3 separate regions of the Homo sapiens genome follow, and all the other regions are linked to region 3. Evidence: promoter capture Hi-C in 16 types of primary human blood cells and fetal thymus (Javierre and others, 2016). All regions are on one chromosome and are shown on one strand. Each heading gives the region's core, a stretch centred on a gene start or on the middle of the fragment in contact. The rest is flanking DNA. Distances are from core to core; before and after follow the strand shown.

Region 1 (4,125 bases), core at 1,273-3,772, 640 kb before region 3:
CCATGACTTTGGTCTGAGCAATGATTTCTTGGATAAGACCCCCAAAACACTGGCAACAAAAGCATTAGACAAATGGGATTGCATCAAACTAAAAGGCTTCTGCATAGCAAAGGAAATAGTTAACAAGAGACAAACTGAATTAGGAGAAAACTTTTGCAAACCATATGTCTGATACAGAGTTAATATCTGAAATAAATAAGACACTAAACTCAATAGCAAGAAAACAAATAATCTAATTTAAAAATGGGCAAAGGACCTGAACAGTTATTTCTTAAAAGAAGGTATATAGTCAACAAATATATGAAAAAGTGCACAGCATCCCTAAAGATCAGGGAAATGCAAATTAAAACCACAGTGAGACATCACCTCACACCTGTTAGAGTGGCTATCATAAAAAAGATAAAAGTTAAGTGTCAGTGAGGATGTGAACTTCAGTATATTTAGGTTTGTAATTCATCTGAATTTTATTTTTTGTATGTGTAGTGTAAGGTGGATTTTAAAAATATTTAATTCTATTTTTTTCTACATTATTTTCCTTTCTAGTCATTCCTTTTCCAGTAATGTATGATTTATCCTCTGTCATATTCTGGTCACCATTCATGAATGGATTGAGTTTTCTTCCTTTGGTCCATTTTCTATCTCTAAACAACCATAATCTTTCAATTACTGTAATATTATAGACATGTTTATATCTGAAAAGCCATTACTCTACTTCTTACTTTTTCATCTTAAAAATTGTTTTAATTTTCATGGCTGTTAAGTTGTGTATATGAATGTTTTAAAAACTTAAGTTCCATTTTGAACTACTTTAAGACTTCAAATGAAAAGTTTATTGGTTACTTATGGAGAATCAACACCTTTATTGAATCTTCTCATCCCTGTACACAGTATATAATCCAACTACTTTCATTTTGTTCATACTCTTAGGTAACTTAAAAAATTATATTCTCCAAAAGTTATTTTTCCCCATTGATGAGTTATTCTCAGATACCATATACTTTTCAATGTTCTTGTGAATATGTAATCCATCTTTAGTTTCTTTTACTGTAGGACTCTCCTTGGTCATTTTGCCCCCAAATTTGACTTTTTGAGCAGTCTCATCAGTCTCTTACAGGATGTCTCATATTATTTGTTTGTTCAGTTGTTTCTCATGTGGTATTATTAAATTTGTATCTTCTGTTTTTCTGAAAACTGGAAGTTAGTTCTGAGGCTTGATTAAACTCCAGGTTAAATATTTTAAGAGAATATTTCAAGGATGATGTAGTCTACATATTGTAACATATCAGGAGGCACATAAGTTATTTTACTATTATTGTTACCAGTTTGATCAATTAGATTATGGAGGCTACCATCATTCTCTTTATTGTAAATATGGAATAGATAGTTTGAGGTTAAAAGCTTGTCATTATGAAGATATCTCATTTTCTTGCAACTCTTTTTCTAGTGGTTTCATCATCCATGGCTGATTCTTGCCTGAATCAATTCCAATATAGATGATTAATATTATGAATTTTTAAATTCTATTATTTCTTAAATATTTACTAGCTGTCAATCTTCTAAAAAATGGTTTTTTATCAATTTTTCCCTGGTAATTAAAACATATTATAGAAAAATAAGGCACTGATATAATTTGGACAGCTGTCATTAAGATGGCTAACTAGAAATGCCCAGCACTCACCTACTCCACAAAGAAGGACTGAGATAGCAAGTAAATAGCCAAATGTTGACGGCACTGTCTAGGAGAGAATGCTGGTATCCAGCAGGGAAGCAAAAGGAACCTTCTGAGGTATGGAAATTCAAAATGGCAGCATAGAGAAGGAAGTAAGGCAGCCAGTTGGATGGGCTAGGAGCCAGGAAGTACTTCCCTTCTCATATGGAAAAAAGGTAAATGAGAGATCCATGTAAGTACACATGTAGGCACCTGCACACACTGTCCAGAGGCTGAAGAGTGGTGTGTCCAGCCTACTGGAACCCACACACCCCACCCAGGAGCCTGAGGGCCAGCCTGTCCAGCCTGCTGTTTCTACAGCCAGCATCCTTGTTACACACTCAAAGGTCTAAAGACTGGCCTACTGAGGGTTTGCTGCCACTACAGCTAGCACTTGCACACACCACCAAAAGGCCTAAGCACCAGTCAACCTTGTGTCCTCATCTTCAGCAAAGGCTAGCCAAAGCATCTGCAAACAACTGCAACCTAAGCCACTAAGGAACGCACAGAAACTACTGACATTGATAACAGTAAAAGAAATCATACAGTGGCTACAGTATGGTGCATATCCAGAACCAAAGCCAAAGCAATCTGCCCAACCAAAATTGAAGCCACATATATAGTAAGAAAAAGTATTTCTTTACAGAAGCTACTCCATAAACCTGGAAGAAGTGACTGTTAAATGCGATGCACAGATATCAACATAGGGATGAAAGAAATACAAAACAGCAAGGAAATATGACACCTACAAAGGAAGACAATAATTCCCCAGTAAAAGACCCCAAAGAAAAGGCATATAAAATGCCTGAAGAAAAATTATTCTCTGAAAGAACCCGAGTGAGATACAAAAGAACACAGATAAATAATACAAAGAAATAAGAAAAAAAATCATGATCCGAATCAGAAATTCGACAAGAAATAGATACCGTAAAAAAGAACAAATAGAAATCCTGGAACTAAAGAATTTAATGAATGGAATAAAAATGTAATTGAGAGCTTCAACAAAATACTAGATGAAGTAGAAGAAAAAAATTTTGAACTTGAAGACAACTCTGTTGAAATAATTCAGGCAGACAAAGAAAAACACAAATACTCCAATTTGATTATTATACATTATATGCCTGAATCAATATATCATATGTACCCTATAAATATATACAATTATTGTGTATCAATAAAACTAATAAAGTATAAGAAAAAGAGGACTATAATTATAAAATATCAGATGCTACTAAAAAAACAAAAGGGAGGACACTGAAAAATCTCAACAGATTTTCCACAATGCACGTAATTTCTTAAATATTTAAACCAAAAATATTTCACCAATATAATTTAACTGAGGGTAGGGTAACAGTCTTTTCTCTTTTACAACTCTGCCTACTCAACTCTGACAATAGGTAGATGTACATGTCAACATAATTGATTCATGTTTAGCATACATTTTTTTCTTTAAAGGGAAAGAACAAATAATTGTGTGATTTTCCCTCTGGTAGAACTTAAAGGAAATTTTATGTGTAAGATATATCATGAAAGTTTAATTTAACCTTATTTATATTTTTAGCATCTTATTTTGGTATGGTAAAAATCAACATAGCTGTCAGAGGATATTTGGGACATGATTAAATAAGATAACATGTGACTCAGAATTATTACCTGGCCATCTAGTTAATTCAATGGTTAATAAAACATTAGTAACATGATTGAAAAAAGAGCATAATAATTGAGAACAATCTTAGGAATATTTGTATTTTTTCTTAGATAAATAAGAACATAACAAAGTCAATATAAAACCCAGAAAGTTATTGTAATAAGACACAGAATCTCTAGGGGGGTTATATAGAAGGTAAAGAAAAAGGTTTCACATTGTAGACACTCGTGGTTAAACCAAAGGAAGTCTATCACAACTGAATGACTTGGGAAATCATTTTAACACATTTCCAAGCTTCTCTTCAGAATCAGATTTAAAACATTATTCTTTATACAGGGAGAGGTGAAGGCCTTTCTGAACTATAGACATGCAGACACATAGAAACACACAGTTCTCAGACCTTCAGAACTCTGCCTGGTCTGTTTCTGGAAATACTATTTACTGGGTGACCACCACTTGCCTAGGAGACCTTGGCTCAGACATGTCTTCTCACCTCTGCTTTAGGTGTCCTGCAGATTGTTTACAGATCTGGGCACACCTCTAAAATGGCCTTAGCTCACTGTGTTATTTTTGCCTAGTATTGTTCTTGCTCAGCTCTAGCTAGATTCTCAGGGGAGTCATGTGAATTTTATCTGGGTAGTATAATGCAAATGCATTATACTGCACTCATTGAATCACCTCAGCATTTTTAATTTGTTCTCAGTGAATAAAATAGAGAAAATGGGTTATTAAGAGACCAAAGATGAAAGCATCATGTTAAACAGAACCA
Region 2 (4,100 bases), core at 1,552-4,051, 620 kb before region 3:
AGCATATAGGAAACTGTTTGCAGCATTCACTAGATCTCCCTAAGAATTGAAAACTAGAGCTCTCTTTGAACAAAAACTGTGAAAAGAAGTCCTAAATTACTTAGACATTTCATTTTTATTTTCTTCTCTTCTGAAATTATTTTGAAATAAATATAGAACTGTTTGGGAAAGCATTCTCACCGGCCTTTGTTATGAATGTTGCTTCTATTGATCTTACTCGAGAATGGAAACATTTTCCGGGGCTGAAGATTCCATATAGCCTTTGTTATGAATGTTGCTTCTGTTGATCTTACTCGAGAATGGAAACATTTTCCGGAGCTGAAGACTCCATATAGGCCTCCCCTCCCCTCCCCTCCCCTCTCCTCTCCTCTCCTCTTCCCCTTTGCTCTCTCATTCTCTCCATTCCTCATATTCTTGACAAAAGTGATAAAATTTGTTGTTAATATGATATAGAAATGGTAAAGAAACATATAAACCTGAACTTACCCTATCTTCCCAGCCTTCTTAGATACCCCTTGATTTTAGGATTATTTTGTGTATTATATGTATTTTCCCAGTTTTAGATTGATTGAGACTCAGATTGCATATTTTTATTTAATCATGTGGAATTTCCCTGGACCAAATAAGTATATAAATATAATGAGGCAAAGCTTTATTGTTATTAATGTTATCTGTAAAGAAAAGCACACAGACTTTTAAACTAATGCTATCACTCATTTCATATGTAAGCATGTGAAATAAGGTGAAATATAAATCAAAAATGAGACTGAAGGGATAAAAATCTAGCATTGGAGTCAAACATCACTGGGGTGGAAGGAACTCAAAAGGACACTCACTCACTCACTGAGCTACCCTGGCTGTCTCTAAAACACACAGGCTAATGCAACAGAAACAAGGATGGATGGTTTGCTAGTTTGGAGGTAGCTCTTGGGGTATTTTGACACTGCTCCAGGTTTTATTCCCCAGCAGGTCAAACAAAGGAGGCTTTACTTTTGGGGCTTCCATGAATTAGCTCATGTTATGAGTCAGGCTCTCCATTATTGCTCTAAAGCTAGGGCCAGTGCTTTCTCCAACAAGAAAGCCCAAAGTTTGCAACATAGTAAGAAATTTCCATTTGCTCATGAGTCTTTTCAACTTAAAACATTATTTTATTTAATTTTTGTAGACATAGAGGGGTCTCATCTTGTTGTCCAGGCTTGTCTCGAATTCCTGGCCTTAAGAGATCCTCTGGCCTCAGCCTCCTAAAATGCTGTGATTACCGGCATGAGCCACCATGCCTGGTCCCTTTTCAACTTTAAATCACTTGTTAATTTAGTTCTCAGAAAATCACTTGTACTGAAATGGACATATTCTATGAAGGTTAGAGGTACGACTGCTCATCCTGGAAAAGCTCTGTTTATTCTTGCTCATCCTCTCGGCTGTGTGTGTGTGCATATGTGTGTATAGAGAAGGAGGAGAATGTATGTTGTAATGGTCTGCTACATTCTCTTTCAGTTGAAAAACTGCTGAACAACAAAGTGAGACTCTCTTGTGTCTACAAAAATAAAATATTTTTTAAGTTGAAAAGACTCAAGAGCAAATGGAAATCTCATGCTATGTTGCAAACTTTGGGTGTTCTTGTTGGAAAAAGCACTGGCAGTAGCTTTAGAGCAATAATGGAGAGCCTGACTTATAGCTCAACATGAGCAAGTTCATGGCTGCCCCAAACTTAAAGCCTCCTCTGTTTGACCTGCTGGGGAGAATAAAACCTAGAGCAGTGTCTACATACCCTAAGAGCTACTTCCAAACTAGCAAACCGTCCATCCTGTTTTCTGTTCTGTGTGTTTTAGAGATGGCCTGGAAACCAAAGGGGAAAGTGAAAAAATTGCCATTGAAGTGATACTAAAGTAAAATCAAGAGAGGTTCTAAAGACAAGATGATCTGAGGGAAAAACATGGCCAAAACTCTCCCTCACGTTGGGGTGTGCGAGGGATCTCAGATGACAATCTCTGAATGTCTATCACATAAGAGGACACACTGCATCTCTGGTTAGATGCAGTAGATATCCCTGTCTGTCGCTTCCTGTGTTTAATTAAATCCTTCCTAGAATATTATGTTAATCATCTGGCTAAGTCTCAGGTTTTTGTTCTTTTCATGAAAAATGACACTATATATTTGAAAACTGATTTGTGAAAATAACGAGTACTTTTTAATTTTTGTGCTATGCTATGTATATGGACTAAAGAAAGAAAAAAATGATACTATAATCACATTTTCACCAAAGGAGTAAACTTTAATGCAAAAATGGGAGAATAATCTTAACATCCTTCAGTGAGAAGGGGATAGTAAATTAGAGTATCACCTGAGGATAATGACTATTTTAAATATTGCAGTAAGTAGCAAGCAGAAATTTCATTCACAACATTTAATACACACAAAACTACATTAACCGGGATATTTATACATGAAAATGTATGCCCTATTGCAGTTTTATATATAATTGCATAGCCAACCCTGTAATTCCCAAAGGAAATAAAATCACTCAAAAGTCATTTCAAGTAATGAGGGAGAGAAGTGAAGTTCTTTGCTTCTTTCACAATAAATCTTAGTCCAGGACTACTAAGTGTTAGACTGATATACCCACAGTTGTTTTACACCTGAGTCCATGAGAAATATAAATTGCTTGATATTTTTAAACTTTTTGTCTAGGCCTTGATGCTACACATACCTTCATTCAACAAATGAAGAAACAAATGATACTTTTTAATATTAGTATGACACTTATTTTCCTTTACTCCATAGGGCGCTTATAATTTTGAACTATGACCAATCAGACACAGATGATGGAATTCTTGCTTGTGAGATTTACTGAGAATTGGGTGCTCCTGAGGCTGCATGCTTTGCTCTTCTCACTGATCTACCTCACGGCTGTGCTGATGAATTTAGTCATCATTCTCCTCATGATTCTGGACCATCGTCTCCACATGGCAATGTACTTTTTCCTCCGACATTTGTCCTTCTTAGACCTGTGTCTCATTTCTGCCACAGTCCCCAAATCCATCCTCAACTCTGTCGCCTCCACTGACTCCATCTCCTTCCTGGGGTGTGTGTTGCAGCTCTTCTTGGTGGTACTGCTGGCTGGATCAGAGATTGGCATCCTTACTGCCATGTCCTATGACCGCTATGCTGCCATCTGCTGCCCCCTACACTGTGAGGCTGTCATGAGCAGAGGGCTCTGTGTCCAGTTGATGGCTCTGTCCTGGCTCAACAGAGGGGCCTTGGGACTCTTGTACACAGCTGGAACATTCTCTCTGAATTTTTATGGCTCTGATGAGCTACATCAGTTCTTCTGCGATGTCCCTGCCCTACTAAAGCTCACTTGTTCTAAAGAACATGCCATCATTAGTGTCAGTGTGGCCATTGGGGTCTGTTATGCATTTTCATGTTTAGTTTGCATTGTAGTTTCCTATGTGTACATTTTCTCTGCTGTGTTAAGGATATCACAGAGACAGAGACAATCCAAAGCCTTTTCCAACTGTGTGCCTCACCTCATTGTTGTCACTGTGTTTCTTGTAACAGGTGCTGTTGCTTATTTAAAGCCAGGGTCTGATGCACCTTCTATTCTAGACTTGCTGGTGTCTGTGTTCTATTCTGTCGCACCTCCAACCTTGAACCCTGTTATCTACTGTCTGAAGAACAAGGACATTAAATCCGCTCTGAGTAAAGTCCTGTGGAATGTTAGAAGCAGTGGGGTAATGAAAAGATGACTAAAGTTGAAGATGGGAAGTAACTTTTTTTGTTGTTGTTGTTCTGCCATCCACTAGCTGTTTAAAATTATCTCTATTTTGGGATAAAAATGTCATGGAGTCTTGCTACTGATAATCTCAAGCAGTCAGTTTTAATAGAAATAGAAAGCAACTATTTTCCTACAATTTTTGCACTTTTTTTTTTTAAAATTTTGAGACGGAATCTCTCTCTGTCATCCAGGCTGGAGTGCAGGGGCGTGATCTTGGCTCAAGCAATTATCATGTCTCGGCTTCCCAAGTAGCTGGGATTACAGGTGTATGCAACCACGCCCAGCTATTTGTTTGTGTTTTTAGTAGAGACGGAGTTCCACCATG
Region 3 (4,302 bases), core at 72-2,571:
AGTTATGCCCCCCTGAGATTTAATGCGAATGACAGGAGCTTTAAGGAGTTAAGCTTGGAGAAGCATGCACTAGTCACAAAGAAGGTGGATTCTGCATAAATCTCTGCTCAACATGAAAATAAGAGACATACCTTACATTAATATATGCATTTCTATTTGTAAATATGCATATACAATGTATTCTTATATTTGTAAATCTGCACATATATAAAAATGCATATCTATAAATTTATATAAAATAAATGTAAACTGTATACATACAAGTTGTCTGGGACTAGAGAAATTATCAAATCCAAATTCTTACAAGTCTGACTAAATGATAAAATCAGCAAACTGAAGTAATGAAGCTCATATCATAAGATGATTATAGTAATACAGTCTGCAGAATAATTTGTGTAGATATTAACTCTTTGACAGTGTATGTATTTGTTCATTTGTAACTGGTAATATTCTAAGCACTTTCATTACTTTTCTGCATTTAATCTTCATCAACCCTGAGGTCAAACCTTTTCTTACCATCTATTTTTATGTGCAGTAAACAGAGGAATAGCAGGTAGAGGGGAAGCTGGGTCCACCCTGCAGTCCAGCCACGGTCCCTGGGCTCCTCACCCCATGCGACTCTGGTTTCTGAGGAGTCTGGTGTGTAGGAGGACCCTGGCTTGCTCATGGGGATGTGTGGGGTTTTGCTCCACGAAACCACAGAGCCTCACAGCATTGTCCAATACTGTGGGTAGAAGGGTGCAAATGTTTGGTATGGATTTTCCACAAGTGATATTTTAGTCATGTTCTAAATCATTCCTATATGGAATACACTTTTGGGAGTTTTTAAGATTCCAGATGGATCCTTAAACCAGAGAATGTAATTCACTTTAGACTTCTCTAAACAACTCTAAAAACAGGGGGACAAAATTCTCCTTTGTTTTCAATAATTCACTATTCATGTCTGCATAAGGCAGTGACACTGCCAGTTTCCAGGACTTGTTTATAACAGACACTCTCATCGGGAAATCTCATGACTCAGAACTGTGGCAACTTCACTACAAATCACCCTTTTGATCCACAGTTGTGAATTCTTAGTTCCTGGTAAATTTTTTGAATTGCAGATAATTTATAACACCCAAATCTACAGGCCCATGGGCCTTTCTTTGGTTAGAACACACACACACACACACAATTTGTTTCAGAGGCTCAAATTACTTTAACCCCAAGCTTTCCTTTGTGGCCTAGGTGAAACCTCATGGACAACATCACCTGGATGGCCAGCCACACTGGATGGTCGGATTTCATCCTGATGGGACTCTTCAGACAATCCAAACATCCAATGGCCAATATCACCTGGATGGCCAACCACACTGGATGGTCGGATTTCATCCTGTTGGGACTCTTCAGACAATCCAAACATCCAGCACTACTTTGTGTGGTCATTTTTGTGGTTTTCCTGATGGCGTTGTCTGGAAATGCTGTCCTGATCCTTCTGATACACTGTGACGCCCACCTCCACACCCCCATGTACTTTTTCATCAGTCAATTGTCTCTCATGGACATGGCGTACATTTCTGTCACTGTGCCCAAGATGCTCCTGGACCAGGTCATGGGTGTGAATAAGATCTCAGCCCCTGAGTGTGGGATGCAGATGTTCTTCTACGTGACACTAGCAGGTTCAGAATTTTTCCTTCTAGCCACCATGGCCTATGACCGCTACGTGGCCATCTGCCATCCTCTCCGTTACCCTGTCCTCATGAACCATAGGGTGTGTCTCTTCCTGTCATCAGGCTGCTGGTTCCTGGGCTCAGTGGATGGCTTCACATTCACTCCCATCACCATGACCTTCCCCTTCCGTGGATCCCGGGAGATTCATCATTTCTTCTGTGAAGTTCCTGCTGTATTGAATCTCTCCTGCTCAGACACCTCACTCTATGAGATTTTCATGTACTTGTGCTGTGTCCTCATGCTCCTCATCCCTGTGGTGATCATTTCAAGCTCCTATTTACTCATCCTCCTCACCATCCACGGGATGAACTCAGCAGAGGGCCGGAAAAAGGCCTTTGCCACCTGCTCCTCCCACCTGACTGTGGTCATCCTCTTCTATGGGGCTGCCATCTACACCTACATGCTCCCCAGCTCCTACCACACCCCTGAGAAGGACATGATGGTATCTGTCTTCTATACCATCCTCACTCCAGTGGTGAACCCTTTAATCTATAGTCTTAGGAATAAGGATGTCATGGGGGCTCTGAAGAAAATGTTAACAGTGGAACCTGCCTTTCAAAAAGCTATGGAGTAGACCATTTTGAGAGTAATTTACTTTTCCTTCTCTCTGCACTTCACATATGAGAATGTTATACCAGTGTTATTTCCCAGACTCCAAGACTGCCATGGTGTTTGATCTCATTTTCACACCTCTTTTAGAAATCGCTTTCCTGTACTAGAAACTTTTCAATTTACACTCCGTCTCACTTCAAAATGCATTATTCAGTCATATTATATTGATGTTACAGTTACTGAAGTTCATAACTACTTTCTAATTCTATAGGATATTTTCATATTCTGGGAATACATAATGATACTACTTAGAGGATAAAGGTTATAAGGCATAAAATTGAGAGAGAGGGAGAAATGAGGAAGAAAAAGGGTTCATATAGATGTTCTTTGTACTACTTTTATTTATGCTAATTTTCTGTAAAATTGAAATTAATTTTAAATAAATAATTAAAATATGTCCCCTCCCTCCCACCTTTTTTGAGCAGTACACATGATATAATATCTTAGAAAACTTGCTGATTGCAATGTAGTTATTCACTGCTGAGACAATCCAGCCATTTGTCCACCCTTATTGGAGGCTGTCTTGGCCCACATGGTTGGTTCCTGAAAGATTAAGGTCTGTTATTGAGGTTAACAGTCTTCATCAAGTGCTGGGTTTTGAATCCCGAATTCCGTTAAGAGACTGTGGAAAACATATTAGCCTGGGGTGAAAAGAAGCTTTAGAGAAGATTTCCAGCACAAAGTGACATCTGAGCTGAGTTTTGAAGTATGTAATTTATTAGACAAATAAGAAGAGGTAGAGTATCAAATATCCAATTGTTCATTTATCCAGTAAATATTTGTTATGCTATATTAAATCTAAAATATTCACTAAAGAAAATTCAAAGGTGAATACTACATACTGCTTTCCCCAAGAAATTTGAACTAGTAATTCTGTGTGCAAATAGGTGCTATAAAGTGTATGAAATGCTTTGATGCACATGTGGAAAGGGTATAGCTCATTCTGGCACCTCGCTTCTTCCTGTGCTGTGCACATTCAATCAAGCAGAAGATGCTGAGTGCAGCCCCAGGAGCTCAGTGTTAAAGGTGCCTAGCTGTTCCCCTCAGATAACTACACATGGCTGGGGAAGGGGGAGGGACTTTGTCAGGGATGTGATTATGCCTGGGAAAAGGCACAGCAAGAGCAAAGGTCAGACAATTGACCAAGCAGGAGTGGCAAATATTCTAATCGTGCCTTCTTTCCTGTTTTATTTTGTGGAATAATTCCTTGCTTTCTGTGACCCAGATGTTTACAAACAGTAGAAAATGATCAGTCTTGCATTTCAGAAATATTACTTTGGTGACAATAGATTGGAGAAGTGCAAACCTGGTGGCAGGCAGACCAGGTGAGTGAGGATGGTGAAATGCACGAACTCAGTGGAACGATGTGTACCTTACCACCAGGAGGGACTTAGGGAGAGGAAATGTTTGGGGTATGCAGGGATGTGAGACTTTGTCAAACCAATTGGATTATAATTACAGACCTAGTTGCAGGTGTATCATTTTCCAATTGCCTGTGTCCAACTTGTGAAAAATCAAGTGGCTTCAGATTTACAGATTCTGCTTTCCTCTTGACAATATGATCCTAAACATGTAAAACTTAAAATCTCCACAAAAGCTCTGTTAGAACAATTGAAAGCCTTCACATAAAGTTGCAGAAATCAAAATCAACATACATCAATAATTTTTCTATGCACTAACATCAAACTACCTGAAAAAGAAATTTAAAAACAATTTTATTTATAATAGTGTCAAATCAAACAAACAAAAACTTTGGGATAAATTTAACCAAAAGGGTTAAATATCTACACTGAAAAACATAAAACATTGATGTAGGAAATTAAAGAAGACACCAATAAATGAGAACTATCCCATATTCATGGATTGGAAGAATTAATATGTTAAATTTTTCATATTACCCAAAGGGGTCTATACATTTAATGACATTCTTGTCACATTTCAATGTCATTTTTCACAGAACTGGAGAAAAAAATGATTTAT

The links. The method cuts DNA at HindIII sites, captures the fragments that hold promoters and counts their contacts. A CHiCAGO score of 5 or more calls a contact.
Region 1: a fragment that was not itself captured here is called in contact with the fragment with the promoter of OR2T4 in region 3 in 1 of 17 cell types (M2 macrophages); the score reaches 5.8 in M2 macrophages.
Region 2: the fragment with the promoter of OR14K1 here is called in contact with the fragment with the promoter of OR2T4 in region 3 in 2 of 17 cell types (endothelial precursors and M1 macrophages); the score reaches 8.6 in endothelial precursors.

Annotation. Positions count from the first base shown.
Region 1 is chr1:247,718,710-247,722,834 of GRCh38, forward strand. No RefSeq gene overlaps it. Among named protein-coding and RNA genes, the nearest start is that of OR6F1, 4.1 kb to the left of the region's middle. The HindIII fragment of the contact is 2,252 bases long and covers 1,397-3,648 here.
Region 2 is chr1:247,735,814-247,739,913 of GRCh38, forward strand. It overlaps OR14K1 (olfactory receptor family 14 subfamily K member 1), which reads left to right and starts at 2,802. Exons shown (of 1, transcript NM_001004732.2): 1 at 2,802-3,746. The coding sequence starts at 2,802. The coding sequence ends at 3,746. All of the region lies in intron 1 of OR14A2 (olfactory receptor family 14 subfamily A member 2), which reads right to left. The HindIII fragment of the contact is 3,693 bases long and covers 649-4,100 here.
Region 3 is chr1:248,360,344-248,364,645 of GRCh38, forward strand. It overlaps OR2T4 (olfactory receptor family 2 subfamily T member 4), which reads left to right and starts at 1,322. Exons shown (of 1, transcript NM_001004696.2): 1 at 1,322-2,284. The coding sequence starts at 1,322. The coding sequence ends at 2,284. The HindIII fragment of the contact is 1,770 bases long and covers 1,208-2,977 here.